Regions from separate parts of the Homo sapiens genome. Here region 2 is linked to region 1. Evidence: promoter capture Hi-C in 16 types of primary human blood cells and fetal thymus (Javierre and others, 2016). All regions are on one chromosome and are shown on one strand. Each heading gives the region's core, a stretch centred on a gene start or on the middle of the fragment in contact. The rest is flanking DNA. Distances are from core to core; before and after follow the strand shown.

The links. The method cuts DNA at HindIII sites, captures the fragments that hold promoters and counts their contacts. A CHiCAGO score of 5 or more calls a contact.
Region 2: a contact is called between a fragment that was not itself captured here and the fragment with the promoter of MYH3 in region 1, in 1 of 17 cell types (endothelial precursors). The highest score is 6.6, in endothelial precursors.

The regions. Positions count from the first base shown.
Region 1 is chr17:10,655,211-10,658,879 of GRCh38, forward strand. MYH3 (myosin heavy chain 3) reads right to left here and starts at 2,099. Exons shown (of 41, transcript NM_002470.4): 1 at 2,079-2,099; 2 at 880-938. The HindIII fragment of the contact is 3,770 bases long and covers 825-3,669 here.
Region 2 is chr17:11,946,400-11,950,068 of GRCh38, forward strand. The region is part of intron 67 of DNAH9 (dynein axonemal heavy chain 9); the gene reads left to right. Among named protein-coding and RNA genes, the nearest start is that of ZNF18, 49 kb to the right of the region's middle. RefSeq lists enhancers at 1,845-2,346, 2,347-2,846. The HindIII fragment of the contact is 1,588 bases long and covers 1,086-2,673 here.

The DNA of each region.
Region 1 (3,669 bases), core at 849-3,348:
CTCATGCCTTGAGAAGCTCCACCCAAAGGGCTTCAGTGCTGGGAAATCACACGGGTGCATATTTATTGAGGGGCTTCTTGTGCGACAGTCTTACAGCCTATTTAACCCAAGCTCCTCAAGCATCTGAGGCTTGAACTGGCGATAAGGGGTTTGGAAGTGAGCACCACTCTTGGGACCGCCTTTTCCGCTTCTGTGACAACCAGGTGTTGCTGAGGGAACGTTTAAAAATAAACACCCTTAAAAAATAAACGCCATCTTCAAAGAGAGTGTGCTAATGGCAAACAGCAAAGATATTTTTGAACCATTTCAATCAAGGTGGCTACACGCTCGTATGCGGGAACCTGCCTTTTGCTTCCTTGGGTTGCTAAGAACAAAATCAAGCATCTGACATCAGCATCTGTTTGACAGTCCCCCAAATGCCACCTCCTCTCCCGCCTGACCTGTCCTTGCCTTTTTTTTTTGAGATGGAGTCTCACTCTGTCACAGACTGGAGTGCAGTGGCACGATCTCCACTAACTGCAACTTCTGCCTCCCAGGTTCAAGCGATACTCCTGCCTCAGTCTCTTGAGTAGCTGGGATTACAGGCACTTGCCACCACGTCCTGCTAATTTTTCTATTTTTAGTAGAGACGGGGTTTCACCATGTTGGTCAGGCTGGTCTTGAACTCCTGACCTCATGATCTGCCCACCTCGGCCTCTCAAAGTGCTGGGATTACAGGTGTGAGCCATTGCACCCGGCCACGACCTGTCCTTGTCTAAATGTGCTAGTTCCCCTGTCCCTCTGTGCCCTTATGGCCGGTGGGAGGAGGGAGAAAGGAACTGGCAAGCTTGGATTGCCTGGAGATCTCCAACAGCCGAGGGACAGGGCCCAACTTCTCACCTGAGAGTCCCACCTGCAGGATGAGAGCAGAAGACAGCAACAGCCAGGAGATCCCAGACCTGGAAGAATATGCACATACACAACTTAGCGGCACTTGGGGTGGCTGCGTCCATGTAGAATCGGCTTCTGACGAGTTAACTAAAAAGGATAAAGGGGCCAGGCGCCATGGCTCACGCCTGTAATCCCAGCACTTTGGGAAGCCGAGGCGGAAAGATGGCCTGAGGTCAGGAGTTTGAGACCAGTCTGGCCAACATAGTGAAACCCCTTCTCTACTAAAAATAAAAAATAAATTTAAAAAATTGCTGGGCGTGGCGGCAGATGCCTGTGATCCCAGCTACTCTGGAGGCTTAGGCAGGAGAATCATTTGAACCTGGGAGACAGAGGTTGCAGTGAGCCGAGATTGTGCCATTGCACTCCAGCCTGGGCGACAAGAGCAAAATTCTGTCTCAAAAAAAAAAAAAAAAAAAAAAAAGACTAATACTTTAAAGAGGCAGGCTGGAAGATGGAAGAGCAGATGGGACGTGACCCACAGGAAGCCAGGCAGGGAGGAAAAACCCTCAGCTGTGCAGAAATCTGGTTTCTCTCAGCCTGCACTGGCACCTTCTTCAGTCTTCCTCACTCCCATTTAGAATCGGACAGCAGGGACCGCATCCCTGCTTAAAGTCAACAGTTCGAGGGCAGGGGCAGGTCTCCTTGTCTGTGAACAGGCAATATCTCTGAGATTAATTTACACGCAATGCCCACAGCCAGTGTGGTCTTGAGAGGACAAGACACCTGGCAGATGTACAGCCCAGGTGGGGAAGGTGAGGGCAGAGTGAGGTCCCCAGTCCTGTTGACCCTTCATGGGTCACAGAGGCAATGGGAGAAGGTCAAGCCATGGCAGCTGGGCTCACGGGGCATCCAAAAGGATCCTGCCCAAGAGGACACTTGGAGAGGAGGACAGGGGAGAGTGTGTGGAGGAGAGAGAACCTGCAGGGCTCCTGCTTGGGGGAGGTGCTGGAGCCAGAGGGTGCTGGGTGTTTGGGCCCAGGGAACCTCGCTCTCTACACCTTGCTTATCCTAAGAAAACTCAGAAAGGCATGAGGCGCCACCTCAGCAGAGCCAGGCAGGGCCAGGGAACCACGCACGGGGTGTGGATGTGCTCACCGGGTGGGTGTGCTCCAAGCAGCTGAGACCTAGAAGAGGAGCCTGTGACTTACCTCCGCCCACAAGCGAGCCACAGAGGGCTGGCTGCTCCCCGGGGCTTTTATAGGCCATTGGTAACCCCCGCGGCTCATTCCTTCTCTATATTTGGCAAGAGGATGAGTGGCCCCCCCAAGCCGAGAACCAGCTTCTTCCACACGTATCTTTGTCGTTGCCAAGGGAAAGGTATAATTAGAAATGAGCAGGATCCATCACCATTTTCCGACCGCAGAATGTCAGGAGCTTGGGATGCCTTTCTCTGAACTTGGGGCCGGTGCTCCCTCCCCTGATGGGATGGGATGGCCTCACTCCAGGAGGAGTTGCGGGGGCAGCCACCTCCGTTCTCAGGCGCTCATCACACCCTGAACGCGGCGTGAGCCCCTAGCTATTGGGCACCAAGGACTGAAGTCGGGTGGCTTACTTAGAAATCTCATCATATGGAAAAGTGAATAAGACTGAGAGTGAAAAGTTGAAATCCTTTTTGAATTTTGAGCAAGATTTTATCACAACCTTGGGTTGTGATTGCAAAACCTGTGCCAGGAATAATTAATAATAATAATAATTAATAGCAATAATTCCCCTCCCCCCTTGCCCTCTTCTCCCTTCTCCTCCTTCTACTCCTCTCCTTCTTTCTCTTATTTTCTCCTATGCAACGTTCTGTCTCATTAGTATCATTATTAACTTAATTCTTTCTTAAGCTCTAATAGGACCAGCCAGTTAAGTTAGTGACGTGGATCTATGCTGCCAGCTCGTATTCCCGGCGACAGCTGCCTGAGGACCTGTGGCTATTAAGACAGATTACCAATTAGGAAAGACCAGCTGCTGGCTGGGATGGGGTAGGGGGAACGGTGGTGGCCTGCAGAGAAAGGGCGGACAAGGGGGGGCTGTCTAACAAATGTGGTCATCTCTAAATCAGGAGTGGAAAAATAAAGCCTCAAGAGAAGAGTAAAGTATGTCGGACGCTTTTGCCCATTCTCGTTCTACTTTTTTTTTCTTGACAAATCTTTGGGAGGATGGCTGGGTGGGCACCCTGTGGTTGCTTATTCCAAATAGAACTGTTTGTCCATGTTTCCCATAGAAACCGCCCCTTCCGTACACAGCAGTACCAAGCCCCGAAGTGGAGGCCACTCCATGAGGTCTGCGTGGGACCGGGGAGGCAGGGCTGCGGTCTCAGGGCAAAGGCACGTGTATGAAACATCCTCTGTGCTCTGGCCCTTACACACAGTGCTTCGAGAAGACGCAGAGGAAACAGAAGACGCAGCCTTTACCCTTAAGGGTTTGAATTCTAGATGATGAGTCCTGTGGATGCTACAGACGCATTTACAAAATTGAGGTGATTTCACATTGAAGCAACAAGTTTATGAAGCGCCTGTTCCGTGAATGCCAGGCAAGGCCAGTGGCCGCCAATGGAGTCAGTTGGGCAGGGCTCACTCACCCCTTGCCTGTCCACCAGCCACTGAGCGTTGCCCCCACCCACTGCCCCTCTCCCTCCAGGTGAGACTGACATGTCCATCCTTGGAGCCCCTCCTCATCCAAGGAGAGGGTAACCGTCACTCCTAAAGTGTCCGTCCATGTCGTAAAGGGAGTGGTCCCCTGGGGCTCTGCCCT
Region 2 (3,669 bases), core at 630-3,129, 1.3 Mb after region 1:
ACACCTGTAATCCCAGCACTTTGGGAGGGCAAGGTGGGTGGATCACAAGGTCAGGAGTTTGAGACCAGCCTGGCCAATATGGTGAAACCCTGTCTCTACTAAAAATACAAAAAAAATAGCCAGGCGTGGTGGCAGGCACCTGTAGTCCCAGCCACTCGGGAGGCTGAGGCAGGAGAATGGCGTGAACCCGGGAGGCGGAGCTTGCAGTGAGCCAAGATGCCACCACTGCACTCCAGCCTGGGCCACAGAGCAAGACTCCATCTCAAAAAAAAAAAAAAAAAGAAAAAGAAAAAAAAAATCTGCACTTGTACCCTCTAAATATATAACGGTATTTTAAAATTGAAAAAGAAAAAAAAATGCTTGCAAGCCGAAAAATAAAATAAAATATTCCAGGGCTGTTTCAGGTTGAGCATAGGGAGACAGGTCTACCCATGTTAGCCAACACATTAATTGGACAAACCCAAATGCTGTGCCCAGACTGGGCACCAAGGTTAGAAAATGTCTAATTTTTGAAGTCATTAAGTCAACACTGTTAGCATTCATGAAAAAGATATTGTTATTCACCATACTTCATATTTGGCTGGATGGGAGGCCATAATGTCTACCTAAAAAGTATTAGCTACTGAAAAGCACAGCAATGAAAGCCTTGAGGACTACAGGAGCTCAAAGCACACAAAAGTGGTAAAGGAAGGCATCATCTGGGGGCCACAAATATGTTCCCATAGAAAGGAATTCTTTTGGGAATTCACCACAGTTAGACATCTGTCTCTCAGCCTCACAAGATGAGGAACCAGGTCCTGTGATTATCCCAGAGCTGACTGGAAGGGGTATTGACTTTCACTAACCAAACTCACAAAAGCCTGATGTACCAAATGCCCAATGGCCAATTTATTCTGTTTCAATAACAACTAGGCATCATTTTCAAAGGGGCATATACTGACAACAGACTGCCCAGAAATTATCTCCCTATGTAGGAAAACTACAGAAGACAAGTTCTTAGACTTTTAATGCCCAATACAGTAGCCATTAATGACAGGTGCCTACTGAGCCTTGAAATGGAATAGTCCAAATTGAGATGTGCTATAAGCTTAAATTACACACCACATTTCAAAGCCATAAGACCAAAAACTATAAAATAGTCTAGTAATTTTATATTTATTATATATTGAAATGATGTTTGGTATTTTAGATATATTGAGTTAAATAAAAGTTAAATTCACCTGTTTGGTTTTTTACTTTTAAAATGTGAATTCCAGAAAATTTTTAATTACCTATGTGGCTCTCATATGTGGTTTGCATTCTATTTCATTTAGGCAGTGCATATCTTAGATGGAGCCATGGCCAGCCCAGAATCTGGGAGGGGCTGGGAACTATTTTTTTTTTTTTTTTTTTTTTTTTTTGAGACAGAGTCTTGCTCTGTTGCCCAGGCTGGAGTGCAGTAGTGCGATCTCAGCTCACTGCAACCTCTGTCTCCCGGGTTCAAGCGATTCTCCTGCCTCAGCCTCCCGGCTCCCGCCAGCACGCCCAGCTAATTCTTGTGTTTCTTTAGTAGAGACGGGGTTTCACCTTATTGACCAGGCTGGTCTCAAACTCCTGACCTTGTGATCCACCCACCTCGGCCTCCCAAAGTGCTGGGATTACAGGTGTGAGCCACCACGCCTGGCCAGGAACTGATTTTTATCATTCAAACGTGTGATGGCATCAGGCTTTTTTTCTATGCTTCAGTGGTTGATTGCCCCTCCTGATTGACAAAATCTGTTTCTAAAGATGTGAAGCTGTTCAAGTTTTAAAGTCTGGCTTGCTGACTGGGGATCTAATCTGGCTCTTTTTTTTTTTTTTTTTTTTTTTGAGACGGAGTCTCACTCTGTTGCCAGGCTGGAGTGCAGTGACACGATCTCGGCTCACTGCAAGCTCCACCTCTTGGGTTCAAGCTATTCTCCTGCCTCAGCCTCCCAAGTAGCTGGAATTACAGGTGCCTGCCACCGTGCCCGGCTAATTTTTGTGTTTTTTACTAGAGATGAGGTTTCACCGTGTTGGCCAGGCTGGTCTCGAACCCCTGACCTCAAGTGATCCACCCGCCTCGGCCTCCCAACGTGCTGGGATTACAGGCGTGAGCCACCGCACCCGGCCTCCTCTGGCTCTTTATTCTGATGCACTGTGTGTTGACTTGAATAGTTCAGGTCTGGAAGGGTGGGCCGTGCTATGGCCCTTTCATCCCCACCCACTGAGCAGCTATCCTGGCCTCTATGCCTTTGGCCTTCCAGTACTCTACCAGAATACCTGAATAGAAAGGCTGCTGCCAACCCAGCCTGGAGGCCAGCCTGGAAGGAGTGGGACCCTTATCACTTTCACTTCTTCCCATGTCCTCAGCTCCCAGTGTCTTAAACAAATGAAAGCTCCTCGCCAAGAACATCTTCATAGGGTAGAAAAAACAGAGAGGAGCTAAGCCTCAGGACAGGCTACAGCATGGAGCCCCTCCAGGAGGGAGGACCTGGGTGCTGCTGCCCTGTCCCCTGGCCCTCTGTGGACTGAACGCCCGCTGCATGACCGTGAGCCCAGGGCAACAGCTGCTTCAGACACATCAGAGATCAGAGGCGCCCTTTTCAAATGGAAGTTCCTGGCCTCATTCCCAGAGGTATGAGTCCTTAGTTTGGACTACAGCCTACAAATCCAAGCTTTTAACAGGCTCCCTGACTTAAAAGAACGAAGACCTACAGGAAAAATGAGGTTTTCACTCTGTATTATGCCAAAGAAAGATTATGAAAGCATTTATTGATAGGGATGAATGAAAGGGTTAAGGTCACAGCCAGATAGCCCTCCTATCCTGAAAAGGGGCCACCCAGCCTGTAGTTCTCCCAGAGTTTCATTGCAATGCCAAAACCGAGGAAGCACCTTGTAGACCCTGAAATGCAGCATTTTCTTGAGCGAAGGGTCCAGTGTTTTAAGTTTTCTCTTTGTTGACTCTTGACCTGTGAGCAAGTGTGAATATTAATCGCTGTTAAACAGGATTCAGGCCAGAGGAGTTTAGGAAACTGGTTGAATTAACATAAGTAGGTGTCTTTGCTGTAGTATAGCTTGAGACTTTTTTTTTTTTTCTTTGAGACGGAGTTTTGCTCTTGTTGTCCAGGCTGGAGTGCAATGGCGCAATCTCAGCTCACCGCAACCTCTACTTCCCAGGTTCAAGCAATTCTCCTGCCTCAACCTCCTGAGTAGCTGGGATTACAGGCATGCGCCAGCATGCCTGGCTAATTTTGTATTTTCAGTAGAGAGGGGGTTTCTCCATGTTGGTCAGGCTGGTCTCAAACTCCCAACCTCAGCTGAATCACCTACCTCCACCACAAAGTGCTGGGATTACAGGTGTGAGCCACCATGCCCAGCCAATGATTTTTTATTTTCTTCTTTTCCTAAATGACTCCTGGTTCTCTTCTCCAGGGCTGTCCCTGCTTCACTGACAAGCTGAGACAGAACATTCTTTGGAGTTCCATCACTTGCACATTCAATTAGTATGTGTAAAATTATTGTCAGAATACATTATAATCTTATTATAAGCAGATGTGGGAAATTTTTAAGAAAGCCAAGTTACACATATTATGTTCCTCTGCTTTCAAAATGATGTTAGATTTCTGAAGGGTGTTAAAAATTAAGTATTGCATATATTTTTAAATTTAT